Linked DNA regions of Homo sapiens: all the other regions are linked to region 3. The links are contacts of gene promoters, found by promoter capture Hi-C in blood cells and fetal thymus (Javierre and others, 2016). All regions are on one chromosome and are shown on one strand. The core of a region is centred on a gene start or on the middle of the fragment in contact, and the rest is flanking DNA. Distances in the headings are between cores, read along the strand shown.

Evidence for each region. The method cuts DNA at HindIII sites, captures the fragments that hold promoters and counts their contacts. A CHiCAGO score of 5 or more calls a contact.
Region 1: a contact is called between the fragment with the promoter of TGFBR1 here and the fragment with the promoter of GALNT12 in region 3, in 15 of 17 cell types (M0 macrophages, M2 macrophages, M1 macrophages and 12 more). The highest score is 30.8, in M0 macrophages.
Region 2: a fragment that was not itself captured here is called in contact with the fragment with the promoter of GALNT12 in region 3 in 1 of 17 cell types (M0 macrophages); the score reaches 5.3 in M0 macrophages.

The regions. Positions count from the first base shown.
Region 1 is chr9:99,102,929-99,106,655 of GRCh38, forward strand. TGFBR1 (transforming growth factor beta receptor 1) reads left to right here and starts at 2,185. Exons shown (of 9, transcript NM_004612.4): 1 at 2,185-2,374. The coding sequence starts at 2,278. RefSeq lists silencers at 1,713-2,312, 2,403-2,912. The HindIII fragment of the contact is 12,693 bases long and covers 1-3,727 here.
Region 2 is chr9:99,151,193-99,154,968 of GRCh38, forward strand. TGFBR1 (transforming growth factor beta receptor 1) reads left to right here. Exons shown (of 9, transcript NM_004612.4): 9 at 1-3,000. Among named protein-coding and RNA genes, the nearest start is that of TGFBR1, 48 kb to the left of the region's middle. The HindIII fragment of the contact is 1,498 bases long and covers 1,450-2,947 here.
Region 3 is chr9:98,806,087-98,809,743 of GRCh38, forward strand. It overlaps GALNT12 (polypeptide N-acetylgalactosaminyltransferase 12), which reads left to right and starts at 1,584. Exons shown (of 10, transcript NM_024642.5): 1 at 1,584-1,983. The coding sequence starts at 1,613. It overlaps LOC124902229 (a long non-coding RNA gene), which reads right to left and starts at 1,494. Exons shown (of 2, transcript XR_007061689.1): 1 at 685-1,494. RefSeq lists silencers at 1,466-1,555, 1,656-1,725. The HindIII fragment of the contact is 2,789 bases long and covers 553-3,341 here.

The DNA.
Region 1 (3,727 bases), core at 935-3,434, 300 kb after region 3:
ATCTGTATTATTACAAGCTCTCCAGGTAATTGGAGAGACTTTACAATTTGGGAACCATGATTTTAAACTAATAATTTAGTGTTCCATTCTAGTGTAGTTTATTTATGGATCTGTGGCTCATGGAAATTTCCTCCTAGTATCAGGAAGATACAACTTAAAAATAGTCTGTTTTTCCTTCCTATTGTATCCACTGAATTCCACGGAAAATGTTAAGGAACTGGAGGTGTGATTAACACTGATTAATCTAGGCTCCGTACGTCAAAGGCACAGACTGACATGAACATACATGCTGATTAGAATCATACAGAGCTGGAAGGGGATGGGCAAAGAAATGGCATTAGCTAAATATTTACTATGTTCCAGACACTGTACCAGACACATTACGTCATTTAAGGGGCCCAAGACAAGTGATTCAATCCCTTTTATTTATAAACGGGGTAGGTACTATTATTATTTACATTTTAGAGATGAAGAAGCTAATGGCCAGAGAAAAACAGTCACTTTCTGAGATCATTCATTCATTCATACAATAAAAATCTCATTAGCTCTTATCTTATGAAAGACATTGCAAATAGAGCAGCAAAAAGGCAGTCTAGGGACCTCAGGTGGCACAAAGTCCACCAAATCTCCATTGAAGAAACTGGAACTGAGAGGGCAAATTGGGACTGGAGCCTGCCAGAAGCCATCTCTCTGGAATCCCTCAGCCTGAGCAAGAGGGGAGTTTGCTGCTGAGGCTGCTGGAGCTGCGGTGTAGAGCAAGTTGCAGGCCTCTGAGCCTGTTGGAGGTTCAGAAAGGTTAGCTGACTTGCTTAAGTAAGTGTCCTAGACAGGAGGGAGAAAGCGCGCGGGTCTCAGATCCCAGCTCCAATATCCACGCCTTTTCCCTTTTCATCTCCCGGAAGGAAGCCTTCACAGGTGGGGAAAATGCTCACCCAGTGACTCTAAAGTAGTGCACAAATTGGCATTAATCAGAACCATTCTGATTCCTGCTATCAAGGTTTATTTAATTCTAAGCTCAAATGACACAGAAAATAAAATTTCCTCCTTAAAAGGTTCTGCGGAAAAATATTCTCTGTTCTACGTAACAGCCTCCTTGGCTGTGTTTGTGTCTGAAGAAAGGACTAGTCTGACAGGAAGAATTACAAATCTGGAGCTCATTTTGGCGTCGCAGAGGGAAGGTGGGTGGAGCGTCTCGCAGTAAATTAGGAATTCAGAATGAAAACGTAGAGTTTATTTGGGTTTTTAGTGACACCTCAGGATTATTATACAGCAGTGTCAGACACAGCTCAAAGTAATGATGACTGCTCCCCCTCCGCCCCGCGGGAGCTGGGTGCTAAGAAGGGGGAACCCCTCCTTTGAGGGGTTGGGGTGGGGATCCTCCCTTTCCAACCTGGATCGGGAAGGGGTTTGAGAGGAGTGCGGCTTGGATCCCCATCCTGGATCTGTGCTGGAGGGAGGCGGGAGGCTATTTGGGGGTGTGTTTGGGCTCAGGATCTGGGTCTGACGCTGGGATCTGAGGACTTTCTGGGTTTGGAACTGGGTGGGGGAGCTGGGTTTGGGGTGACCGCTGGGAGCAGGAGGAAATAGGAGAGTGAGTCGCATGTGAAGGGCACTGAGGAGGGATCTTCGGGGGAATGCTGAAGTTGATGCGTGGACTTGGAGAGGGGAAGTTGAAGTGGATGCAGGGGCCTGGCGCTGCAGCGGATCTGGGTGGCATGTGCTGGGATTGCCAATGCGGAGCTGTGAATGGGGTCAGGGTGGGGCTGAGGCAGTACCAGATCTTCCGCGCCTAGAGGAGGTTAGAAGAAAAGAGCGTCGAACGGCCACAGCCTTTTTCCGAAAGAGACTCACACAGACACACCCATCGCTCTACCCGGCCCTCCGGGGCTAGCGGCTGAGCGGTGCTGGGGCTGGCAGACCCCGCCCCCACGCGGCCTCTCGGAGCCGGGAGCCGATCGGGCCGGGGCTGGGGTCTGGCGGCCCAGCCCCCGGGGAGCGTGGGGCGTGGCCAGAAACCGGCGCTCGCGGCTGCGGATTGGCTGCCTGGCGGGCCCGCAGGCGGGGCTCCCGGCTGGGTCCCGCTTGGCAGCTCGCGGCGGCGGGGAGGCGGGGCCGGCGGGAGCCCGGCAGCCAATGGACGCGCGTCCTCCGAGCAGTTACAAAGGGCCGGAGCGAGGCCGCCGCGGCGGCTAGGGAGGTGGGGCGAGGCGAGGTTTGCTGGGGTGAGGCAGCGGCGCGGCCGGGCCGGGCCGGGCCACAGGCGGTGGCGGCGGGACCATGGAGGCGGCGGTCGCTGCTCCGCGTCCCCGGCTGCTCCTCCTCGTGCTGGCGGCGGCGGCGGCGGCGGCGGCGGCGCTGCTCCCGGGGGCGACGGGTGAGCGGCGGCGCGGCGGGCGGGCGACTGCGGGGCGCGCGGGCCGGACCCGGCCTCTGGCTCGCTCCTGCTCTTTCTCAAACATGGCGCGGGGCCGGGGGCGCAGGTGGCGGCGCCGGGGCCCGGGCCGGGCTCTCGTGGCGCCGCGCGGCTCGGCGGCTGCCGGGCGAACCGCAAGCGGGGAGCGGAGGCGGGGCAGGGGCGTGTGTCCGGGCGCGGGCGGACGTGTCCGGCTGCCCGAGGCCGCCCCGCTCGGGACTCCCCGGGGAGGTGGAGTCGGGCGGAGTCGTCCGAGGTCCGGGGCTGCCCTCTGGGGTGTGAGTGGGCGAGGGCCAGGGGCGGAGAGTGCGAGGCCGGCGGGGACTGGCAGAGCCGTGGCTGCCCGCCGCCGCCCCCTGGGCACGGCGTGACCTTGTTCTGGGGACCCCCGCCCCAAGAGGGTCCGTGCCAGAGGCTGCCGAACCCGGGGCGGGGTTTGAGGTTGGGGTGGAAGGCGGCTCCCGGGCGGGGTGTGAGCTCCGAGCCTCTAGGGCTTCGTCCAGTGGGAGTCGGGGGCGACGTGTGGTGAGACCCCTGGGTCCGCAGGCCGCCCTGACTCCCGCCCGGCTCGACCCGAGCCGACCCTGCTGGAAGGGGCTGCTCCTCCAGCCAGGGGGGCTTTGTGTGAGAAGAAGGAAGCGCGGAGATGCGCGGAATGTTTCTTCTTTCGTGCGTCTGGGGAGTGTTGAAGTGAGTCCAGTAACCAGACGGCTACGGATTGTTTTCATAGTGGAAACTTGAACGTTTGCTCATTCTGCGGGTTTTGGAAATTTTGGGAACGACTGTGAATTGATTAAACGCTTTTTATTTCCTCGAAGGAACATCACTCACGTTGTTCCTTTTCTTGAGTGACAGTTAATAGTTTGATTCAGACATCTGTATAGCTGGTTTTCAAGGAAGACTGTTGGCTGGATTTTTCAAAATAGTAAATCAGGTTGGGGTAGGTGGTTGGTATCCACAAAGGGATGAGTGAAAAACTTCGTTAGCAGCTGAACTGAGACACTAGAAGCTAAAATACACAGCCTCAGTGTTAGCAACTAAAATGCAGTGAAAGTACATTTCTGTTTCTGAAACTGGACAAAAGATGTTGAAATTTTTTTAAAAAATCAAGACTGACGGTGACGATTATAATCAGTCCTAATAGCTACCGTCTATGTATTGTGCATTACTACGATGTAAATGCATACACTATTGTATAATTACATTATTTAATCACCACAAGTAAACTCCCAGGAGTAGTGGCATTTGCCCCACTTTACAGATGTGCAAAGTGGGGTACAGACACGTTAAGTACCCAATAACTTAAGTGCTAAA
Region 2 (3,776 bases), core at 949-3,448, 350 kb after region 3:
ATGTGTTTAAAAACATCATGGGAAAAATGCTTAGAGGTTACTATTTTGACTACAAAGTTGAGTTTTTTTCTGTAGTTACCATAATTTCATTGAAGCAAATGAATGAGTTTGAGAGGTTTGTTTTTATAGTTGTGTTGTATTACTTGTTTAATAATAATCTCTAATTCTGTGATCAGGTACTTTTTTTGTGGGGGTTTTTTTTTTGTTTTTTTTTTTTTGTTGTTGTTTTTGGGCCATTTCTAAGCCTACCAGATCTGCTTTATGAAATCCAGGGGACCAATGCATTTTATCACTAAAACTATTTTTATATAATTTTAAGAATATACCAAAAGTTGTCTGATTTAAAGTTGTAATACATGATTTCTCACTTTCATGTAAGGTTATCCACTTTTGCTGAAGATATTTTTTATTGAATCAAAGATTGAGTTACAATTATACTTTTCTTACCTAAGTGGATAAAATGTACTTTTGATGAATCAGGGAATTTTTTTAAAGTTGGAGTTTAGTTCTAAATTGACTTTACGTATTACTGCAGTTAATTCCTTTTTTGGCTAGGGATGGTTTGATAAACCACAATTGGCTGATATTGAAAATGAAAGAAACTTAAAAGGTGGGATGGATCATGATTACTGTCGATAACTGCAGATAAATTTGATTAGAGTAATAATTTTGTCATTTAAAAACACAGTTGTTTATACTGCCCATCCTAGGATGCTCACCTTCCAAGATTCAACGTGGCTAAAACATCTTCTGGTAAATTGTGCGTCCATATTCATTTTGTCAGTAGCCAGGAGAAATGGGGATGGGGGAAATACGACTTAGTGAGGCATAGACATCCCTGGTCCATCCTTTCTGTCTCCAGCTGTTTCTTGGAACCTGCTCTCCTGCTTGCTGGTCCCTGACGCAGAGACCGTTGCCTCCCCCACAGCCGTTTGACTGAAGGCTGCTCTGGAGACCTAGAGTAAAACGGCTGATGGAAGTTGTGGGACCCACTTCCATTTCCTTCAGTCATTAGAGGTGGAAGGGAGGGGTCTCCAAGTTTGGAGATTGAGCAGATGAGGCTTGGGATGCCCCTGCTTTGACTTCAGCCATGGATGAGGAGTGGGATGGCAGCAAGGTGGCTCCTGTGGCAGTGGAGTTGTGCCAGAAACAGTGGCCAGTTGTATCGCCTATAAGACAGGGTAAGGTCTGAAGAGCTGAGCCTGTAATTCTGCTGTAATAATGATAGTGCTCAAGAAGTGCCTTGAGTTGGTGTACAGTGCCATGGCCATCAAGAATCCCAGATTTCAGGTTTTATTACAAAATGTAAGTGGTCACTTGGCGATTTTGTAGTACATGCATGAGTTACCTTTTTTCTCTATGTCTGAGAACTGTCAGATTAAAACAAGATGGCAAAGAGATCGTTAGAGTGCACAACAAAATCACTATCCCATTAGACACATCATCAAAAGCTTATTTTTATTCTTGCACTGGAAGAATCGTAAGTCAACTGTTTCTTGACCATGGCAGTGTTCTGGCTCCAAATGGTAGTGATTCCAAATAATGGTTCTGTTAACACTTTGGCAGAAAATGCCAGCTCAGATATTTTGAGATACTAAGGATTATCTTTGGACATGTACTGCAGCTTCTTGTCTCTGTTTTGGATTACTGGAATACCCATGGGCCCTCTCAAGAGTGCTGGACTTCTAGGACATTAAGATGATTGTCAGTACATTAAACTTTTCAATCCCATTATGCAATCTTGTTTGTAAATGTAAACTTCTAAAAATATGGTTAATAACATTCAACCTGTTTATTACAACTTAAAAGGAACTTCAGTGAATTTGTTTTTATTTTTTAACAAGATTTGTGAACTGAATATCATGAACCATGTTTTGATACCCCTTTTTCACGTTGTGCCAACGGAATAGGGTGTTTGATATTTCTTCATATGTTAAGGAGATGCTTCAAAATGTCAATTGCTTTAAACTTAAATTACCTCTCAAGAGACCAAGGTACATTTACCTCATTGTGTATATAATGTTTAATATTTGTCAGAGCATTCTCCAGGTTTGCAGTTTTATTTCTATAAAGTATGGGTATTATGTTGCTCAGTTACTCAAATGGTACTGTATTGTTTATATTTGTACCCCAAATAACATCGTCTGTACTTTCTGTTTTCTGTATTGTATTTGTGCAGGATTCTTTAGGCTTTATCAGTGTAATCTCTGCCTTTTAAGATATGTACAGAAAATGTCCATATAAATTTCCATTGAAGTCGAATGATACTGAGAAGCCTGTAAAGAGGAGAAAAAAACATAAGCTGTGTTTCCCCATAAGTTTTTTTAAATTGTATATTGTATTTGTAGTAATATTCCAAAAGAATGTAAATAGGAAATAGAAGAGTGATGCTTATGTTAAGTCCTAACACTACAGTAGAAGAATGGAAGCAGTGCAAATAAATTACATTTTTCCCAAGTGCCAGTGGCATATTTTAAAATAAAGTGTATACGTTGGAATGAGTCATGCCATATGTAGTTGCTGTAGATGGCAACTAGAACCTTTGAGTTACAAGAGTCTTTAGAAGTTTTCTAACCCTGCCTAGTGCAAGTTACAATATTATAGCGTGTTCGGGGAGTGCCCTCCTGTCTGCAGGTGTGTCTCTGTGCCTGGGGGCTTTTCTCCACATGCTTAGGGGTGTGGGTCTTCCATTGGGGCATGATGGACCTGTCTACAGGTGATCTCTGTTGCCTTTGGGTCAGCACATTTGTTAGTCTCCTGGGGGTGAAAACTTGGCTTACAAGAGAACTGGAAAAATGATGAGATGTGGTCCCCAAACCCTTGATTGACTCTGGGGAGGGGCTTTGTGAATAGGATTGCTCTCACATTAAAGATAGTTACTTCAATTTGAAGGCTGGATTTAGGGATTTTTTTTTTTCCTTATAACAAAGACATCACCAGGATATGAAGCTTTTGTTGAAAGTTGGAAAAAAAGTGAAATTAAAGACATTCCCAGACAAATACTAAGACAATTTGTTGCCTATGGACGTCTGCCTTACAAGAAATACTAAATCCTTCACACAGAAAATAAATGACACCAGATGGTAACCTGAATCCACAGGATGAAATGAAGAGCACCAGAAATGGTGGATATATGTACAACTAGCAAAGACTGTATGATTGTATAGCTGCCATAAATTACTACAAATGCCCTGGCTTAAAGCAACACCTATTTATGATCTCAGAATTCCATAATTCAGAAGTCTAGGCATAGCTCAGATGGTTCTCTGCTCCATATTTTAAAAGGTCAAAATGAAGGCATTGGCTGGGCAACATTCTTTTCTGGAGGCTCGGATGAATAGGCTTCCAAGCTCATTGAGGTTGTTGGCAGAATTCAGCTCCATATGGTTGTAAGACAGGTTGGCCAGGGGTGGTTGTCAGTTTCTAGAAGCCACTCAAATTCTTTGGCTCGTGGTTCCCTCCTCCATCATCAAAACCAGCAGCAATGGGTTGAATCATCCTTGCACTTTTCTCGGATCTCCCCTTCTGCCTCATCTCTCCACTGTCTCTTCCACTGCATCTCTCTAATGCTTCTGCTTCCCTCTTCTGCTTTTAAGGGGCCATGTGATTACTCAGGGGGCCATCTGGATAATCCAGGATAATTACCCTATTTAGTAACCTCAGTTTTACCTGCAAAGTGCATTCACTGCAGTACCAAGATTAGTATTTGATTAAATAACTAGAGAATGGGAATCTTGGGGAAATAATTTGCCTACCAAAATAAATGTAAGTTATCT
Region 3 (3,657 bases), core at 334-2,833:
TCCATTCTGCGTGGGAAGCAGGCGGGGCCCTGAGCACTGTGGGAAGAGCCACTTCCCTCTAGTCTAATATTAGCAGCAGGTTGTCCTGAGTGGGAGCTGCTTTGCATGGTTCATCCCAAAACCCACCCCCCTCCTGCAACCTGAGGGAGATTTCCTCTGGGGATACCAGTAGCCAAAGGCTGTATGAAGACAACAGCAAGTCAGATTCTACCTCTACCTGAGCCGCCAAGTTCAAGGTCCTCTCCCCACCCTGTGTCTCAGACCCCGCATTTATCAATGAGATAATTGGACCAGATTTGTGCTTTTTAAACTTTCTGGGCTTCTGGTCTCCTTGAGAATATTTGATAAAAAGCTTTGGACCAACTTCCCATGGTAAAACAAACAACAACAAATAGAGCTTACACTCTATCCTTCTACAGGGGATACAGAATGATTCTTTTCCCTGAGCTAGACACCAGCAGAGGGAGTTCCAGATTAATTTAAGATATGATTTGAAATCTCTGCTATCACTTTTACATTCAGATATCTGTGTAGACATTACTTCATCAGAGAAGCTTTCCAAAACCCCCAAACTAGATCAAGTTCTACTATTCTAAGCCCTTTTAGCGCCCTGTAATTCTTCTTCAAAATACTTAACACAATTCTAATTATCTTTTTAATATTTGTCTACTCCATTAGACTTACTTCGTCCCTGGCAGCTCAAGGCTCCCACAGCAGTGATCTCATGAACAGGGCGGCAGCTTCATGGCCTTTTTTGGTTGTTGTTTAATAGAAACAGGATCTCGCTTTGTCATCCAGGCTGCAGCGCAGTGGCGCATAGTTCACGGTAACCTCCAATTCCTGGGCTCACACAATCCTCCTGCTTCAGCATCCTGAGTAGCTGGCACTATAGGCACGTGCCACCATGCATGGCTAATTCTGAAATTTTTCTGTAGAGATGGGAGTCTTGCTATGTTGACCAGTCTCGTTTTAAGCTCCTGGCTTCAAGTGATCCTCCTATCTCGGCCTGGGATTACAGGTGTGAACTATCATGTACAGCCTTCATGGCCTTTTGCTCCTAGCCTCAGAGGTCACAGAGCTATCACGAGGCGAGCCAGGCGAGGGTTTGCTATTCAAGGACTCCAAAGAGTATGGCAGAGGCTGGGCCTGCAGAAGTCAGTGGGGCAGCGTGGTGTCTGTTGATCTCATCGCACCTCCATCTCCTCATCTGTAAAAGGGAGCTCGTAATCCTAGTTGATGGTTGTTTTATTGGACTGTGTAAAGATCAGATGAGATAATGGCAGTAGAATTCATAACACCCTGCAGGGTGTATTCAGCCAACACTTAGCGCCTACAATATGCCAGGCGCTAAGGGTTTTACCACCACTATCTCTTTAATAATGCACCATAGCCCAAGAAGGAAGATGCAAGTCTCAGCCAGCCCACTTGAAGACCCTGCCGAAATGAGCCACCCCGGGGGCTGCGCTTGGGCTGGCGCGGGGCTGGACGGAAAGGGGGCGGCGCGCAGGTGGGGCGGGCCGGGGGCGGGGCGGCACGGCGGTTCCGGGATCCGGGTCCTGGCCTCCACCGCCGCCTTGGGGCGCGCAGATCGCTGGCTGCAGTTGGCGGGCGCATGTGGGGGCGCACGGCGCGGCGGCGCTGCCCGCGGGAACTGCGGCGCGGCCGGGAGGCGCTGTTGGTGCTCCTGGCGCTACTGGCGTTGGCCGGGCTGGGCTCGGTGCTGCGGGCGCAGCGTGGGGCCGGGGCCGGGGCTGCCGAGCCGGGACCCCCGCGCACCCCGCGCCCCGGGCGGCGCGAGCCGGTCATGCCGCGGCCGCCGGTGCCGGCGAACGCGCTGGGCGCGCGGGGCGAGGCGGTGCGGCTGCAGCTGCAGGGCGAGGAGCTGCGGCTGCAGGAGGAGAGCGTGCGGCTGCACCAGATTAACATCTACCTCAGCGACCGCATCTCACTGCACCGCCGCCTGCCCGAGCGCTGGAACCCGCTGTGAGTGCACAGCTCTGGGGAGGAAGCCCGCCCTCAGAGCCCCGGGCCTCAGTTTCTCCATCAGAGCAGTGGCAGGGCGGGGAGCTGGGGTCTCCAGGATGGCGCGTCTTATTGAGTCTTTCTCCGAAGACGATAGTGTAAGAGCTCACATGGGGGCGGGGAGGCAAGAAAGTAAAAAAGACGAAAGTAGAAAAAAAATTACCAGAAATTGGCAAGTCTGTTAGTGATCTCTTAGCTCCCTTCTCCTTGAGAAGTTATCATCTCCCTGAAAAGGTGAGGGTCAGGGCTAAGCAGAAGGGTTTAAGGCGAGGACCCCCCAGCACCCAAAGGACAACCCCGCTCTGCCCGCCTCGCAGTGCCTCCGCGAAACTGACAACTCCTCCGGGCGGTGACCGGCTCCATTCATTCTCTGTGTGTGCCAGGGCCTAAGGGACAAACAAGATGCGAGGGAGCGCCCCACAGGTGAAGCGAAAGATGGCTGTAAGGCCCCCTCAGCGCTAGAAAGCCTCCTTGTGCTCTCCCTGGGCATTGGATTTCTGAGCTTTGGGTGGAGGAAGGCGGGAAGGGGCACGGGGTGGGAAGGGCTCCTTCTGGCCGTGATCCACCCCAGCTCACTCCTGTGGGTGGTGCTGGACTGGAGCCAGCGTGGTCAGAGGCCTAGTTCCTGTTGGAGCTACTGGCTGGGCAGGTTGCGCCCCTGCCTAGGTGGGGATCCAGGGCACACGCTGGCAGCAGGAGGAAGGACAGGTGGCTGCTGCCACCTTTGCCGCTGGGCCTCCCGGGCTCTCACTTTTTCTTCGAAGTGTCAGGGATCTTCCAAGTCCTTTTTTGAGCCCCTTCCTTACAGACTTTGAGGAAAAGAGGACTCAGAGAGGGGGTTCCCATTGGAGCTGGTGGTGGCAGCCTGCCGTGTGCACCAGGCACCTGCCACTCCTCTCCCCTTCAAGCCATTCCTGCTTTACAGGTGTGGAAATAGGTTCGGAAAGGATAGGTGACCCACCCAAGGCCCCTCAGCTGGAATGTGGTAGGACTGGTCTGGAGGGACTATGGCCCTTCTGGCCCACTTGGCACCATGCTGATCTCAGGATTTTAGGGGCCTGCTCCATGGTACCTTGGCCAGAGAGACCATGAATGATGGAATGAGGATGCCCCACCTCTGCCCCACTGTTTCCACTGTCTTCCCTGTTTTGGGGATCTCCTCATGCCTAGCCTCATGCTTCTGCCTGAGGCATTTTTCACTGTTAGTCTTTTTGAATAAAACTTTGTTGGGATTGATAGTAGTTCCTCCACTCACCAGCCTAACGCATGTTTAGCTCCTCGAAACCCCGAGGGTGCCCGCTGAGGCAAGGTGGAGGGGAAGCTTTCAGGTTATACCCAGCTTCAGATTAAATCCAGCCCAGGGGAGATAAAATCCTGGTTCTTTTGCTCGTCACTTCTGTGATCTCTGGCAAGCTGCTTAGCCTCTCAGAGCCTTGGTTTCCCTTCGTTTGCGAAATAGGAAACTCATAAAAGTGAGTCTCCATGCATTCTACATAAAAGTGAGTGGAAAGAACACAACTTAGGAATTAATAAAGCATCAATACCTGGGAGCACACTGTGTGCTTAAATCTTAGTTTTTTCACCTTTCCCTGTTGCCAAGAATGTACTCAAGAGGTTGCTTTTGAGAGTCATCCA